6 separate regions of the Homo sapiens genome follow, and regions 1, 2, 4, 5 and 6 are each linked to region 3. Evidence: promoter capture Hi-C in 16 types of primary human blood cells and fetal thymus (Javierre and others, 2016). All regions are on one chromosome and are shown on one strand. The core of a region is centred on a gene start or on the middle of the fragment in contact, and the rest is flanking DNA. Distances in the headings are between cores, read along the strand shown. Region 1 overlaps OCRL (OCRL inositol polyphosphate-5-phosphatase). Region 2 has its middle 57 kb from the start of APLN. Region 3 holds the start of ELF4 (E74 like ETS transcription factor 4). Region 4 has its middle 12 kb from the start of ENOX2. Region 5 overlaps OCRL (OCRL inositol polyphosphate-5-phosphatase). Region 6 holds the start of OCRL (OCRL inositol polyphosphate-5-phosphatase).

The links. Contacts are between HindIII fragments. The CHiCAGO score rates a contact against its expected background, and 5 or more counts as called.
Region 1: a fragment that was not itself captured here is called in contact with the fragment with the promoter of ELF4 in region 3 in 3 of 17 cell types (total B cells, M2 macrophages and naive B cells); the score reaches 7.8 in total B cells.
Region 2: a contact is called between a fragment that was not itself captured here and the fragment with the promoter of ELF4 in region 3, in 5 of 17 cell types (naive B cells, activated CD4 T cells, non-activated CD4 T cells and 2 more). The highest score is 6.8, in naive B cells.
Region 4: a fragment that was not itself captured here is called in contact with the fragment with the promoter of ELF4 in region 3 in 1 of 17 cell types (fetal thymus); the score reaches 5.0 in fetal thymus.
Region 5: a contact is called between a fragment that was not itself captured here and the fragment with the promoter of ELF4 in region 3, in 9 of 17 cell types (M0 macrophages, total B cells, naive B cells and 6 more). The highest score is 12.4, in M0 macrophages.
Region 6: the fragment with the promoter of OCRL here is called in contact with the fragment with the promoter of ELF4 in region 3 in 3 of 17 cell types (monocytes, activated CD4 T cells and total B cells); the score reaches 7.0 in monocytes.

Annotation. Positions count from the first base shown.
Region 1 is chrX:129,558,714-129,561,413 of GRCh38, reverse strand. It overlaps OCRL (OCRL inositol polyphosphate-5-phosphatase), which reads right to left. Exons shown (of 24, transcript NM_000276.4): 7 at 2,661-2,700; 8 at 2,413-2,574; 9 at 763-864; 10 at 121-235. Among named protein-coding and RNA genes, the nearest start is that of OCRL, 20 kb to the right of the region's middle. The HindIII fragment of the contact is 2,612 bases long and covers 1-2,556 here.
Region 2 is chrX:129,596,431-129,599,130 of GRCh38, reverse strand. No RefSeq gene overlaps it. Among named protein-coding and RNA genes, the nearest start is that of APLN, 57 kb to the left of the region's middle. The HindIII fragment of the contact is 1,227 bases long and covers 734-1,960 here.
Region 3 is chrX:130,109,191-130,111,890 of GRCh38, reverse strand. It overlaps ELF4 (E74 like ETS transcription factor 4), which reads left to right and starts at 1,394. Exons shown (of 9, transcript NM_001421.4): 1 at 1,394-1,566. It also overlaps a transcript of RAB33A not described here. RefSeq lists silencers at 663-782, 853-902, 913-962, 1,213-1,362, 1,443-1,512. The HindIII fragment of the contact is 7,600 bases long and covers 1-2,700 here.
Region 4 is chrX:130,913,569-130,916,268 of GRCh38, reverse strand. No RefSeq gene overlaps it. Among named protein-coding and RNA genes, the nearest start is that of ENOX2, 12 kb to the right of the region's middle. The HindIII fragment of the contact is 938 bases long and covers 897-1,834 here.
Region 5 is chrX:129,578,202-129,580,901 of GRCh38, reverse strand. All of the region lies in intron 18 of OCRL (OCRL inositol polyphosphate-5-phosphatase), which reads right to left. Among named protein-coding and RNA genes, the nearest start is that of OCRL, 39 kb to the right of the region's middle. The HindIII fragment of the contact is 1,167 bases long and covers 854-2,020 here.
Region 6 is chrX:129,538,923-129,541,622 of GRCh38, reverse strand. OCRL (OCRL inositol polyphosphate-5-phosphatase) reads right to left here and starts at 1,364. Exons shown (of 24, transcript NM_000276.4): 1 at 1,145-1,364; 2 at 800-879. The coding sequence starts at 1,183. RefSeq lists silencers at 1,151-1,350, 1,461-1,520 and an enhancer at 1,237-1,531. The HindIII fragment of the contact is 8,325 bases long and covers 500-2,700 here.

The sequences.
Region 1 (2,700 bases), core at 1-2,500, 550 kb after region 3:
ATTACACACAGAGAAGAATTCAATTAAACTATTCTTTTGGAACAAGTTGTAGATAATGGAATAACTCCCGGTGAGCCCTATTTAGTCATACACTTAAAAAGATAATTAAATGCGGCTTACTTTCTTATACTTGGCTTTGGAATGCAAACCTCTCTCTACAGCCATGGACCATTCTTGTTCCTTCACAGATTCAAAGTAGAAGAAGGCTTCTGTGCTCAAGTCCAGTTCTTGGAATCTGAGGAAAAAAGGGATATGAGATCTATACATATCCCATAATTATCTCTGGCTACCTCCTGTCCCATATGTTGAAACATTAGATGAAAAAAAGATGGGAGAGAGATAAATTTTATAGAACTGCTCTGTTCACCCAGGTTATCAGTAAGAACAAGTAGCTTTCTTTTCTAAAGAATTCCCACAAGTACATTCATAAGCTATGCAAAAAATAAATCAAAATACCTCCCACAGAGGATAACAGCAGAGCTTTGCTCTTATATCCTAGGAACTGTCACTGTTAGAACTGACCCCAAGTCTTAGTTTCTATGCAGAATATATAGATTCCTACGGGTTTCAAGAAAATTAGATGCTTCCTTACACCATTTTAGGTATCTGTTCATTTCTGTTCTCACAAATTTGACCCGCAAGTTAACTCTCGTGTATAGTCTACAGTAGGTTTTACCAACAGTCTTTTTTAAAAAAGGCAAAACATCATGTAAATGAACACCAAACATATAGCCAAAAGGAAATTCCAGAAGTGTTCTTTACCCAATGCAGTAGATATCAGGAGGATTGGGATCACAGTTCAGCCAAGGTTCTAACCCGCTATCTGGAGACTGGCCATTCACATTCCAAGTTCCAACAAAAAATCTAATACATAATACGAAAAGATAATTTGAAAACAAAGATCAAGTATAAACCAACAGAAGTTCTTTCTTTTCGCTTCCATACAAAGGTATGTTCACAATATGCTAACATAATTCCTCAAAATGTTTTGCCACATATGTAAGAAAGATCTTTTGCATCTAGAACACAAAGGCAGTGGGCTTATTTTCTCTAAATTTTACATTAAGTAAAACTACAGAAGGAAACCAAGTCTTTATTTTTAAAAAATGCAAAGGTAATTGCTATACCACATTTCCTTTCAATTAAGCTCCATCCAAACTCATACTTGATAGGAGAGCTTATGGATGGGAAAGAGGTATCTTCATGCTGTAAGCTAGTCAAATATGGATAAATGTTCTATAAGGGGCTATAGTTGACTCCAGGAACTCACTTCCTGAAGGATTACAAGGACATCTGTGTAGGAAATTCTGATGAGGCAGACATAGTATTAAGGGGGAAAGCAGAAGGGAAAACTCATGACTGTCTTAACTGTTTACACACAAATATAAGCATAGTGGGGGATATGAGGAACTGCAAGTTTTAGCATAGGGATATAGTTATGACTGAATTAGAATAAATGAGGTATGACAGGATAGCAGATGGGACTAGAATCTTGGACTAGAAGGGTACATTCTGCTCATGAATAACAAAGAAATGTGGTGTTGCTTCATGCATTGGCGATACATGCCACATGGTACCTCACATGCAGCATACACACACAAGTCCAGAAAAAAGATGAAATAAAAAATAATACAGATAAAAGAACCCAAGATAGACCTCCCAATCAAGAGGACTGGGTGAAACTTTCTTTATTTACCAAAGTAAGTAAGTTAAGAGCTAGTGGTAATGATGGACTTTAATTTTCTAATATTGGCTGAAAAAAAAAAACTTAACAGGCCAGATATATAAACACGCTTGCTTATGGAATGTGCTAGGGGAAAATTCTCTAGTACATGTGACCTTGATTTGGTTCTCTAGGACTCAGTAGAGACATTAGTAGACATGGCATTATTAGTAGTTAGAAAATCCAAGGGAAGGCCAAGCACGGTGGCTCAAGCCTGTAATCCTAACACTTTGTGAGGCCAAGGCGGGTGGATTGCCTGAGCTCAGGAATTTGAGACCAGCCTGGGCAACCTGGTGAAACCCAGTCTCTATAAAAAACACAAATATTAGCTGGATGTGGTGGTGTGCACCTGTAGTTCCACCTACTTGCAGGGCTGGCGTGGGAGGATTGCTTACGACTGAGAGGTTGAGGCTACAGTAAGCCATGATCTATCTGCTCTCCAGCCTGGGTGACAAAGAGAGACCCTGACCCACACACACAAAAAAAGAAAATCCAAGGGAAACTGTAGCATCTGCATTATTTCTGATATGCATGTTATTGGCCAGCATAGAGACAGGAGCTTGAAACAGGCAACCATTCCTTTTTATCATATTTTGATTCTTAATTAGGCTAATGTCTTAAATATCAACAGGCCACTGTCTGTTATATATACTAACTTTTTAGACTCAGGAAGCAAAAGAGACACTAACCTGAAAGTCTGAATGTTGACATATTCTTTCTCTCGCTTTGCCAGGATATGTTTGATGAGACCCTCCCGCTGCCCAGATTGGGTATTTGGTACAAAGAGCTTCCGCATGGTGTTGGTCACTTTGGGCTGCTCCTTGTTAGAAGCTTCTTTTTCACGTGGAAGCCTAGCAAATAAATGAGAGATTCAAAAGTAAAATTGTTTAAACTATAATTCTCCTACAAGGCAAATATGTTTTCACATGGGACTTACATTTTATTCACTGAAAAGGGTGGAGGTGGGGGTTCCCGAT
Region 2 (2,700 bases), core at 98-2,597, 510 kb after region 3:
CCCAGCCCCTGGTAACACCATGCTTCTTTTCTCTATGGATTTGACTATTCTAGGGACCTCATAGAAGTAGAATCATACAGTGCTTTTTGGGACTGGCTTATTTCGTTTAGCATAATGTCCTCAAGGTTGATCCATGTAGCAGCATGTGTCAGAATTCCTTCCTTTTTAAGGCTGAATCATATTCCATTGTATGTAGAGAACTAACACATTTTGTTTTTCTATCCATGGACATTTGGGGTGCTTCCATCTTTTGGCTATTGTGAATAATGCTGCTAGGAACATGGGTGTGCAAATATAGCTTTGAGACCCTGCTTTCAATTCTTTTGGATATATCTCTAGAAGTGGGATTGCTGAACCATATGGTAGTTCTAGTTCTAATTTTTTAATAAACTTTGAGAATCAATTTTAAAAAGCAAATTTAACAAGGCTGATTTTGTTGCCTACAAAACAATAGAAAATAACAGTACTGTGTGGTTGCTAAAAACTATTATCTTCTTGGATTACATTAATATAATTCAGTAAGTCCCCCCCTACCACATGAACTCCTCTAAAGTTAATAGAGCTCAGAATGAATAATTAAATGTATATACATTTCAGGAACACTTATTGGATACACTTATGCTTTAACAGACAATCTTTATTTATTAGCCAAACATCATTGAACACTTACTCTCTGCAAGGCATTGTGGGGAAACTAAAATACGCCCAGCTTGGTTCCCACTCTCCTGAAGCTTCCAGTCCCAAAGGGGCAACAACATCCTTTGGTATGTAGTGTGTTAAAATAGTGGTACAGAGGGCAGGTTCTAGGAGTTCGGGGGAGGGGGGTGGTGGGCAGGGGTTGTGGGAAAAGGCTTCCTGGAAGAGGTGACATTTGGGTTTGATGGGGTTTGGGCAGGTGGAGAGGTGGGGGCTGGAGGGTTCCAGGTGGCTGGTACAGACCACCGAGCCAAAGCAGAGAGTGCGCATGAGTTTAGGGAAGGGAACGGCATGAGAAGGTCGAGTGGGAGACTCAGCCTGAGAGGTGGGTGGAAGAGACTAAGGAGAGCTTTGCATGCCAGGCAGAAGGATTGGAACTTCTGTGGCAAGTGGGCTGGGGGGCCAGCAGGGGTCTGGAATAGGGGAGAGACATCAAAACAGTGCAGTGATGTGTACAGGGAGAGAAACTGGCAACTGAGAAATTAGTTAGAAAGGAGTTAAATACATCAGGCGATTTAACTCCTTACATGAGGCAATGAGTGTTTGAATTTTATTGGTGGGGGGGTGGGGCAGGAGTTGGAGGGGCTGGGAAATGCGCAGTGGAAAGGAGGGGCCAGCTAGAGACTGCGGTTGAGCTGATCTCGGCCCCTTTTCCGTGGAGGTCCTTCCTTCCTCCCTCCTTCTTCTTTCTTGCTTTCTTCCCTTTTTCTCATCTTCCTCCCTCTTTTCTTCCTTCCTGCCCTTCTTTCATCCATCTTTCCTTTTTTTCCTTCTTTTAAAAAAATATTGGCCAGGTGCAGTGGCTCACACCTGTAATCCCAACACTTTGGGAGGCCAAGGCAGGCTGATCACCTGAGATCAGGAGTTCAAGACCAGCCTGGCCAACATGGTGAAAGCCCGTCTCTACTAAAAATAAAAATACAAATAAATTAGCTGGGTGTGGTGGCACGCGCCTGTAGTCCCAGCTACTAGGGAGGCTGAGACAGGAGAATCGCTTGAACACAGGAGGTGCAGGTTGCAGTGAGCCAAGATCGCGCCACTGCACTCCAGCCTGGGCAACAGAGTGAGACTCCGTGTCAAATAAAACAAAACAAACAAAAATATTATGTCTGTCTTGTCTTGTAACGACCAGTCTCACCCATTTTGGTTTCCTTCAGAACCCTGCATGGTAGCCTGCACTTGGCAGGTGCTGGATAAATATTTGTTGAATTGCAATTGGTAACTGATTAGAAAGTGGGGCAGGGGCCAAAAATAACCAAAAGCTTAGGCCTGGGTGATGGGAGAGAGGAGGATGCCAGGAGAAGCTGGTCAAGGTCAAAGAGAAGTTGAATTTGACCTGCCAGCAGGCAATCTAGCTGACATGAAATCTTGGGATGTAGCTAGAAGGGATAGGGGTTTTAAGAAGCACCCTCACCTTCATGCCCACTCCAGCTGGGGAGACAATGGCTGTGTTTAAGAGCACAAATTTTGGGCTCAGAAGTCATTTTCTGGTCAGCCACTAGCCGAGTACCAAGTTATGCTGTCTCTCTGAGCCTCAGTTTTCTCACCTATAAAAGTGGGCTAATGGCCGGGCATGGTGGCTCACACCTGTAATCCCAGCACTTTGGGAGGCCAAGGCGGGTGGATCACGAGGTCAGGAGTTTCAGACCAGCCTGGCCAAGATGGTGAAACCCTGTCACTACTAAAAATACAAAACTTAGCCAGGCGTGGTGGCACGTGCCTGTAATCCCAGCTACTCGGGAGGCTGAGGCAGGAGAATAGCTTGAACACGGGAGGTGGAGGTTGCAGTGAGCCGAGATTATGCTACCGCACTCCAGCCTGGGTGACAGAGCTAGACTCCGTCTTAAAAAAAAAAAAAAAAAGTGGGATAATGTAGTACTTTATCAGGCTATCGTAAAGGCAAAAGTGATGTTAAATGTATTAGTATCTGGGATAAATGACAGCTAGAGTTATTAGTTATTACTCTTCCTAAGGTTAGGAGAAGGAGCATACAGAAGTCACATC
Region 3 (2,700 bases), core at 145-2,644:
CCAGCGCACTCTCTCCAGAGCCTCCTATCAGCAGACCCACGTAGGCGGCGGTATTGATGTTGAGGCAGGTCAGAGAGGGCAAAGGGGAGATAGAAGGGGAGCGTGCCTGAGTGGCTTTCAAGTGGGCGCGTGGAGCAGAGCAGCCTGGCTTTGGACAGGGGAAGAAAGGTAGGCATGGGCTTTCTTCCAGCACCCGAACTCTGGCTCTCTTTGCACTTGCTGGGCCAGCCCCTCTCCCCCTAGCCCTTCCCCTGACTCATATCTTGCCAGCGTCCCCCACCCCAACTTCCCGCAGGAGTCCTAGACTCGACTTCCCTAAGAAGTCGCCGAAACTCTCCAGTCACCCCAGGTGTTACGCCCAGGATTCTGCGGAGTCGGGCATATGGTTCCAAAATTGTATCCTCTGGGCATCTCGCGGCCTCACCCGCCGCACGGCCCGCCCTCCCGCTGGGGCCTGCACACCCCAGGAGCTCAATAATGTGGAGCGCAGGGCTTGGCCCAAAGGCGTCAAGCAAGTCTCCACTTGCACGGGCCGAGGGGGCTGGACGAAACCTTCCCGAGTCCGCGGGGAAGGGATTTCTCTGCGGGGCGTTGTATGGGGGCTTCGCACCGGGAAGGGCGCGGAACGAGCAGAGAGCTCGGAGTCTCGCTGGCTAGAAGCAGAGTGGGGAGCGCCCGCCCGGGCCGCGGCGCACGACGCGGGCTCTGCGGGCGCCCTGCCTCGTGGTCCCCCGGGCGCGAGCGAGCCGCGAGGGGAATGAGAGGCCGCGCGGGCCCCTGGCACGGCTCCCCATGCCGTGCTGGCGACCGCGGCGGGCGGGCCGGGGCGGACGGGCGCTGTTTCCACCGAGATGCCTCGTCCCTCCCTCGTTCCCTCCCCCACCCCGCCCGCCCGCAGTCCCTCCCGTCGGTCCCTCCCTCCGGCTCTTCCCTCCCTCCCGCCCTGCCTCCTTCGCGCCCGCCCCATCCGCCGCCTGCGGGGACGTGTGTGTCTCTACTGCATTTCCCCTTTCGCTCGCTCGTTTCGGTGCATGTCTGCGCCGGTTCGCGCCCCCTCCCCGGGCGCCCCTGCCGCCCCGTGTCTTGGCCCGGCCCTCCCCGGCGTCCGCCCCGCTCCCCGCGCGCTCCACCCCGCCCCCCGCCCCGTTTTATCAGGGGCGCCGCCGTCTCACCTGGTATTTGCATCTCTCCCTCCAACTTGCCATTGGCGGCGCGAAGTGTGGGAGAGCCCTGCGCCTCGCCCGCCCGGACCAGCCTGCCCCGGCGCCGAGGTGAGTCACGGGCGCGGGGTGGCGGGGGCAGGCGGGCGGGGAAGAAGGGCGGGCGGGGAGGAGGGCGGGGGACGGCGGCCCCGGCGGCCGCGGGGACCGACCGGGCGCCGCGCTCAACTTCCACTTCTCCTTTCGCCGGCGCCGAGTTCCTGGCGCCGCTCGCCCGGCCCGGCTTCCGAGGGGAGAGGACGGGCTGGCGGGGCTGGGGACCCGCGTCTCGGCCCCCGGAGCGGGGACCACGGAGACAGACCCCGGCCCGGCGACCGAGCTGGGCCCGTGAGCCACTCGGCCTCAGGTACGTCGATGGCGCCGGTTCTTCGAGCCTTGGGGGACGTGGAAAAGTTTGCTTGAGGGCGGAATCGAGAGCGCCGGGGCCCCGGCGTGGGGCTGGGGGCCCAGGGAAGGGCGGGAGAGTCGCGGAGTGTCGCGAGCCGCCCTGGAGTCGCCCCGCCGCGCGTGTGATGGAGAACCCGGGCTCCCGATCCCGGGATGGAAGTGGAATGGATTCCCCGAGTCGGGGAGTCGGGGTAGGGGCCCCTGTTTTCCCTCGCCCCCGGCAGCCTGGGTTCCGTGACGGGGCCGATCATGACAGCGGGCCCCCAGAAGCTGGGCGCCCGAGGGCAGAGGAGGTGGGGCGGACCGCGGCGGAGCTGCTAGATGGATCCGACTGCCCCCGGGGCTTCTGGGGCCAGGGCTTTAGGGTCACACGCACACACGCGCACGCAGACCTATGATGTGGAGAACTGGATCGCCAAAATAGAGACCTCTTGGCAGGGGCCGGAGTTTCCGTGTGAGCCAGCCGCCAGCCTTCCCGCTCCCGCGTTCCCGCTCTCCCCGACTCTCCCGCCTCCGGGTTCCCTCCTGGGCCGCCGCCTAGGGGATTCAGCAGCCGCACCGTGCGGGGTCCCCTCACGCCAGCGCCTTGCTTTGGAGGCTTGAGGGACTGCTGAGGCGGTGACCGCTTTATGAATTCCTGGCTCCTCCACCGCACCCTAACCCTGACTCCCTTTTCTCACCACCGTATGCCTGCACATCACCTTCCTGACCAGAGTCACCTCCTGACCCCTTGGCACCTCGGCTCAGCGAGGTCCTCCTGGGCCGCCCCCGCCCCGCACCATACCCCAGCTGAGGGATTTGATGGCCATTTGATTCCTGCCCCTCATCCCTCGGCCTGTGATAGAGGCCTGTCTGGTCCTGCAGCCTCTTCTGGTTAATGTTTGACAGTTCATTGTGGCTAATTATTTTAATTAGCTCTTAAAGTGGGAAAGAACAGTTAACCTTGGACTTCTCGATTTTGGCCTGGTGGGGCCTCAAATGGGAGGAGTGCTGGGGAGGTGGGGAGGTAGGAGCGGAAGTGAGGTCACCACCCCAGGGCCTGAACCACCACTGCTCAGCCCCAACAGCTGGTGGGCACGCCCATTGGGGACTC
Region 4 (2,700 bases), core at 116-2,615, 800 kb before region 3:
GCAGGCGCCTGTAATCCCAGCTACGCGAGAGGGTGAGGCAGGAGAATTGCTTGAACCCTGGAGGCAGAGGTTACAGTGAGCTGAGATCGCGCCACTGCACACCAGCCTGGGCAACAGAGTGAGACTCTGTCTCAAACAAACAAACAAACAAAACAAAAACCTCTGAGAAAAATTGGTGGCTGGAGAGTGCTTAATACGCTTCAGTTTCCACAACTTTAAAAGAAAATAATAATAATTGCTATCATAATAAGGTTATAATAAGGCAAAAAAGAGTTATTCCTTGTAAAGCGCTTGGAACAGCACCTAGCATGTAGTAAGTGCTATCTTTAATTTTATAGCTGTAGTATACACTTCTCATATTAGCAGCCCTTAGCCACAGTGAAGCCCTCCAGACAGGGTGTTTTAGGAGGCTAACCCTGTCCTGGCTCTCAGTCACTTCAGTCTCCAGTTTCCTACTTAATCCTGAATTCATTCTGGCACACTACAGGATCTGTGACATCCTCCTCCAAGATGTCCTTGTCAATTAATCCCCACTTTCAGCTAAAATCAGTGAGCAGCAAGGGGGCTAGAGGAGTATCAGCAAGAGCCAACATGTGGCATATCTGTTGTATATCTGGCTCAAGGTAGGTATCAAAGTGAGCAATTTTTGGCACCAACAAGAGAGCTAAGGCCTTTGACCCAATCCCATTACCCCTCTTCCTTCCTGGCAGTAGCTCTAGCCATTGCACTCTACAGCAGCTTTGCAAGCTGGCTGGAGTGATATTGCCTCACTCTACCACACTGTGTCATCATCATGCACTCCTTTCTGTGACTTAATGCTTGTTTATTTCTAGAAGGATGAGAAATGTAACATGTTCAAAGTTTTAAGTACAAACCATCATTTTACAGACAAAGCTTCAACCCAGAGAGTGGATGGGAATTGCTTAAAGTAACAATGCTGGCATGTTTGTTTCTTCCAAAGACTCTAGGCTCCTTGAGGTCAGGCACCATGATTTCTACTTGATTAGTATTTCTCTTTATATAGCATCTTAATGGTAGAAGACCAATGAGCAGCACTCCGCCTCAAGTTTTCCCTGAATACAGGGTCCATTGTTCTTCCAGTCCTAAATGCCAGCTGGGGGCCAGATTGTGAACACAGTGGTGCAGGACCAGTTGCCCTAAAGACCTGAAGTGGGCTGAGCACTCCCAAACCTACCATCTGCAAACCCTTTCACCATTTTGCTTTCTATGTTCTTTAAATCCTTTTCAAGGAGTGAGGCTGTGGGTTACAACCAAAATTCCTGGTCCTTGCAGCCCCTCAGGAGTTGGCCTCTTCACACCACTTCACTATTCCCTAGCATGCCCTCAGGGCATCTGCACTGCATAATTCTGGGACGGGGGTAGGAATGGGGAGCACCATTATGTTTGCCATTATCCTTGTGGTCTATGTGAATAGTGTAGCTACTATTCACTGATCACTTATGATGGGTTAGGCACATCAAATGAGATACCCTTTAAATAAGTGTATGTCATTTAATCCTCACAGCAACCTCATGAAGTAGGTATATTATTATTCATTTTCAAAAATGAGTAAACTGATATTAACAGAGCCCAGTTGACTTGCTTAAACCTAAAATTAAACCACTCACTAGCAGCCTGGCTCCAGAGCCTACTCTAAAGCATGATCCCATTGTTCTTAAAATGTAGTCTGCACAGACCACCTGTATTAGAATCACTTCAGGTGCAAGTAACAAGCTGTTGTGTCCCACCCCAACTGAACTGAATCAGAATCTCTGAGCATAGGACCCAGGAGTATTTGTGATTTTACCCAGGTATCTGAGATTAGACTAAAGCTTGAGAACCAATGTACTATACTTAACACATACATGCTGACTGACACAGAATCATGCATGTAAATGTATGCCCATGCATGCAAATAAAAAACATACTCATCAACACATAATATTTTACATCAGAGTAGTCCTTAGAGATAAGTGGGGGAACTTTTCCATAGTACCTGCTTTTCCAGCCAAATCATCACATCAAGAAATTTGCATAATGAATTCCACATTCCAGACTCCATAGAAAAAAATGTGTATGAAAACACCTTAGCCTCATTGGATCCTGGCAGGTGAGGATGGGTGATTGGCTCCCCAGACCCATAGCCCATCATACTTCTCCCCCTGTCTATAAGTCCATTAGGTTATGCCATAAGTCAATTTCAAAATAAAGTGAAGATGCAAAGGAAGTACGAGGTACATCAAAATCCTTGCCTGGCTAATTCTTAGCTGTATGGATTTGAATACATGACTTCATCTCTCTTGCTTCCGTTTTTTTCATTTGTAAAATTTCGATGGTAATTATAATAGTATCCATTTCATAAGATTGTTATGACGATTACACGAGCCAATATATTGAAAGAGCTTGGATTCTAAGCTCTAGAACAAGAAGTTGGCAAGTTGTACTCAATGTTAGTATAGTAGTACAAGTAATAGTAGTAGTAGTAGTAGTAGTAGTAGTAGTAGTAGCAGCAGCAGCAGTAATCAGGTTTTGAGGTTAGCATCCAACCCCTGTCTGTTTTCAGCTGGATTACAAATGGGTCTTTAGGTGGAGAACCTTGGAGAGTTTGTCAATATGGTATGGGAGAATATGTTTTTGGATCTGAACCTACGATGGAGGAAAAACATGAAGATATTTTTCTTAGCACTTCCTCCTCTGTCA
Region 5 (2,700 bases), core at 188-2,687, 530 kb after region 3:
AGGGTAAGACTCCATCTCAAAAATAAATAAATAAATAGCCGAAAACTGAATGGAAAATGAAGTTCTAAAAAGGATTAGTTCATATGAAATAGAGAAGAAATACAAGCCATATACTTAACAGAGTAAGAAATGGATGGTTAGATTAGTAAGACAAAGTAAAAACATAGTGAAAAAAACACTACGGACAAATTAACAAGTTATTCCTGTTATTTCAAACTTTTGATATTGTTCTCCCAACAGATATGTCCCCAAGCAAATATAGTTTCTCTACCCATCCCTCAACTTTTTTCATCTCCGTATTTACAACTTAGCCACATCTGGCAAGTTCAAGTCTTGTCTCCTTTCAATTAGTCCATTCTACAAGTAACACCAGAATGTTCTTCCAACTATATCAATTTGCAACCTCATACTAATCAGCAAACCCTTCTGATGGTTCTAGATACCCTCTGGCTCATGCATAAACTTATCTATTGACTTCAAGACTCTCTACCACCTGCCCCATTCTCCCTAACCAGCTTCATACATTCTTATCCTTGATCTTCACTTGTCCCAGGGAAATCTTACAGTTTTTCATACATGGTCTTTTCACTTTCACCTTCTACCCTTTATTCAAGATGTCCTCTAAGCCTGGAAGAGCCTGCTCACCCACTATATTAATAAGTGTTTCTTAAGTACTTGGACTTGACTGAAAATACTTCTATAACTAACTCCAAATCACCTTCCTAGTTCACTTTATTCTTATGTGCTAAACTTATTTCTCAGTCATGTTAATGTTACATGTATCAAATATTCATTAAAATGAAAACAGGCTGATTCTGATTTCTATAGGGATTAGCTGGTCAGTCAATAAGCTTTTATAGCATATAAGGGCTTGAATAAACAACATAGGAAAGGAACCTATTGTTAATACAAACTACAACCTTCATAGCAGTCACTTTAAACGACTTTCCAAAATACTGACTTACCAAGCACACCAGACATTAGCCAGTAAAGGTGGTTAATGTTCAGATTATCTTTAACCAAACTCCCTATTAACCATGACTTAAAGTTTAGCCATATTTTATGTGCAAATATACTTTCATCACCACTAAATTATGGGAACTCACATAAACTCCATAATACTTTGTATCCAGTGTGTAATGAATCAATATTGAGGATTATTTGCTACTTAATATTCTAGTTAATATAACAGAAAAATCTATCTTAATTCTGAAAAACAATAAAGATGATTACAAATGGTAGATTTTCATCCGTTTCCCACTTGTGCTAATCTCAACTATTCTAGGAGTGGCAAAGTCACTATTATGAAAAGGGCTGGAAGGATGAAAAATAATTATGTCAGTTATTTCATTCTGCATTTGGTGGGAAGATGGTGTGGCATAAGGATCTTTCTAAAACAGTGCATAAGGATCTTTCTAAAACAGTACATAGAGAGACAACACATACATTGAACTCGTTTCTGGCTTTACCAAAATTTTAGAGCAAATAATACAACAGAGGGCAGGTACCATTATTAACAGCATCATCTCATGAGATTTGAAATACGATATTGGGTCTTGGGGAAAAAAAACATGAATACTATACCTGAGGAATCATTTCAGAAGGTCAAAATCAAGTCACAACAGAGTGAGAAGGTATTAAAGATGGGATACTAATTGTTTTTAGATTTCTTGTTTACTGCTCCACAGTAATGCAGGTTGAGTATTCCCAATCCAGAAATCCAAAATGCTCCAAAACTCGAAACTTTTTGAGTACTGTCATGATGATCAAAGGAAATGCTCATTGAAGCATTTCAGATTTCCGATTTCCAGATTAGGGAAGCTGAACTGGTAAGTATATAATGCATATATTTGAAAATCTGAAAAAGATTGAAATCTGAAACACTTTTGGTCCCAAGCATTTTGGATAATGGATAATCAACCTGTATAGATAATTTCCTCATCAATGAGATACAGGAATTTAATAACACTGAAATGCAACAGACTGTGAAAAGAACCCTAAATCCTACAAAATAAAAGCTTTAAAAGAAAAATGATGTCCACACACATACAATTTAATAAAAACTCAGAAATTCTGTAATTAAAAATGATCAGGGTTCTATTATTTTAACCCTCAATCACTTGTGCACAAAAAGAAGGAAAAAGGCTTCCCAAAGAGCCATTCATTCCTCTAATGATTTTGGTTCCTTTCTGTTCATGGGCAAACATGGTAAAATTACCTGATAGTATACTTTACATAAAATAAAAACTTTATGAGGGTTGAGCCTCTTCTGGCCAATCCCAGAATATGAAAAACTGCAAAGTTTTTCATATTAATGGCTTTGCAGTTTTTCATATTAATGGCAAAGATATTCTAATATCTTCACTGACTCTGACTAAAAATAAGGGTAGGTTCCTGTTTACATGAAGGTGGAAGGAGAGAGTATAAATGGGATAAGTTTAAAAAAAAAAAAAACAAGAAGGAAACAACCAGAAAAATTTAGGAAATGGTTGACCCTTGACTGGACATTTGTACTGGACTCTTAAAAAAGTCAATGTCACTAAAGAAAGTAGGAACTGTACTACTCCAATAGAGACTTCAGAGACCTCACCAAATACTATATGAACCCAGATTGGATTTTGGTTTAAAAAAAGGTATAACAGAAATTCTTGGGACAACTGAAGAAATCTGAATATGGACCGAATGTTAAATGATACTATG
Region 6 (2,700 bases), core at 115-2,614, 570 kb after region 3:
CTATGATACGTAATGGTCACCATGGATATTTTTGAGATAAGATATTAGTGACAATAGAGTGAGGTTAGCAGCTATGGTGATAGCTTATCAAAATAATCTTTTGATCAATCAGTCAACAGTATTTACGGAGCTCCTATGGCAGAGAGGAAGGTGACACACTGATAAAATACTGTCATTTCTATCTCTACACATTTCATTACCTTTTCTTTCTAACAGTAAAGTCAGTAAGTGAGGCAGTTTCTGGCCTACACTAAACCATTACTGAATTAATGAATATGCCTTCAACCCAGTGGGATAAGGGGACGGGGAGACTGGAGAAACCAGCTGAATAGGGTTAAGACAAGTCTGTAACGTTAACAATGAAGCATTTCCATAGCACTTTTACTTTTTGGAAGCCACTCTCGCATTTATTTTTCCCCCAGTTATAATTCCAAAGGCTGTAAGGTAAGGCAGTTAATGGTTTTATTAAACTGAAGAGTTAACTTTGGCCCAGAAAGCTTTATTGACTTGCCCAACGTTACACAACACATGTCAGTTGCAGGGGCAGGAACTAAGAACCCAGGCTTCCTGCTTCCCCGCCCATTCAGTCCTTCCACTGAGCCACACTGCCAAGCACAATCCAGAGGCTTGGAAGTTGGGGACAAAGCCCCGAGGTTAGAGAGCACTGGCACTTCACACCTGGACCTGAACCTGTTGCCCGCGTGGCTTCAGTAGGAGGACAGTGGGTGACCCGTCGCGGTTTGGGGTTGGGAGGTAATGGCAGGCTCCCCTCCTCTGTGGGAATCAGGTGGTTACTTACTCATATTGCCCGTTCCTCTGGGCTAGGGTCAGGGCGCAGGGCTCCCGGAGAGGACCCTTCATCTCCATACCCTCGACAGTATGCGGGCGCTAGTCAAGGGTCTCCTTCGGAAGCGCGGTGGGGAGGAGTGGTGCACTGCGGGGCGAAGGGGGTCTTCCACCCCCCCCCCACCGCCGCCCTCCCCCGCCCCGCCCCGCCCTGCTTCGTCTCCCGCGCCGGCCCCCTCCCCCTCTCTGCTCGGCCTCTGGGCCACCCGGTTGCCCCGCCCCACCGTGTTCCGCAGGGCCCCCGACCCCCACCCCCGGCCCTGCGCGGCCTCCCCTCTCCCTTCTCTCCGGCGGATACGGCAAGCGGCTGGGCTCCGACCGGGAGCGGCGGCTCCATCCAGGCGGCCTCCGGGCTCAGCAGGACAGCGGACTGCGGGCCGATCCGACGACACTGGCTCCCGCGTCCCCACACCCACCCACCTCGGCTGCGTGTCGTTTGAGGAACAGCTCCGCGCCGGGCGCCGGGCGCCGGGAGCCGGGAGCGGGGAGCTGGGAGCTGAGAATCTGACCCAAGAGAGAGCGGCGCCTCGCGCCCCCGCCAGTTTTCCAGGCCGCCGCAGATTCCGTCCCCTGCGGTCAAACTGCGGAACTGCAGCGAGAGACCTGACGGACTGGGGGCGTCTCTACCAGGTCCAGCAAGGAATGGGTTTTAAATGCCACCTGTGACATCAAAATTGTTCTGAGGACTTTGAAGGCCACAGAAACAAAACACAGTCATACCTATGGGAGATCTCAAACCTGTTGTGTCAATACGACCCACATCATTCAGTAAAAAAATACATATATATATATATATATATTTCTTAAGGTTATAATGTCCCGTGTTGGTTATCCTACCATTTCCTTTCCTCTTCTTTCTTCCACGCCCTAAATCGGAGAATTCCCCAAAGCCCAGACCTTTGCTCCTCCTCTGCGTCCCCTCCAGTTCACCTCTAACTAGACAATGTCCAAATATATATCCCTGGCCCAGACCTCTTACCTAATAGAGTCCATTGTTAACACATCACTGCGTCACAAAACTAACTCATTATCATTTCACTGGAAAGCCATATATCGTCTTCCCCCTCCTCATCTCTATATCCAATCAGTCAACACACCCTGTTAATATTTTACGTGGAATTACTTTTAGATTCCTTATTTTCTCTCCATTCACACTGCCATAACTTTATTGTAAGCCCTTGTGATAGCCTATCTGGGTTATTGCACTTTTCTTTAAATAAATCCTGTTGGGTTTACTCTTTCCTTTGACATGTTTACTCTGTTGACAGCCATAAAAATATTTTTCCCAAAGTAATTTTTCGATCGTGTTATTCATTTGCTCCAGAATCTATAATACACTAGATATCAAGAGTGACTGTAAATCTGTAGTAATTAAAAGTATGCTGTGGAGATAGACAATCAATGAAACACAATATAAACCCCTCAAACAGACCACACATATACGGAAGGTTGATATGCAGCGTGTGGGACATTTCAAATCAGTGGGGAAAGAATGGATTATCCACTAAGTGGTACTAGGACTACTGCTTATCCATATGGAAAATTATAAAAATTAGACCCCTACCTCAAACCATGGAAGAAAAATCAGTTCCAGGTGGATTAAAGATCTAAATGTGAAAAGCAAAACTTTATAACTTTCAGAAAAAAAAATTGAGTATGAGCTTGGAATATGGAATGAGAATAAGACATTTAGCTACATGAAATTTCAAAATGTATGTACTTTAAGACAATATAAACAAGTTAAAAGACAAACTGGCCTGCACAGTGGCTCATGCCTGTAATCCCAGCACTTTGGGAGGCCGAGGTGGTAGGATCACTTGAGCCCAGGAGTTCAAGACCAGCCTGGGAAACGTG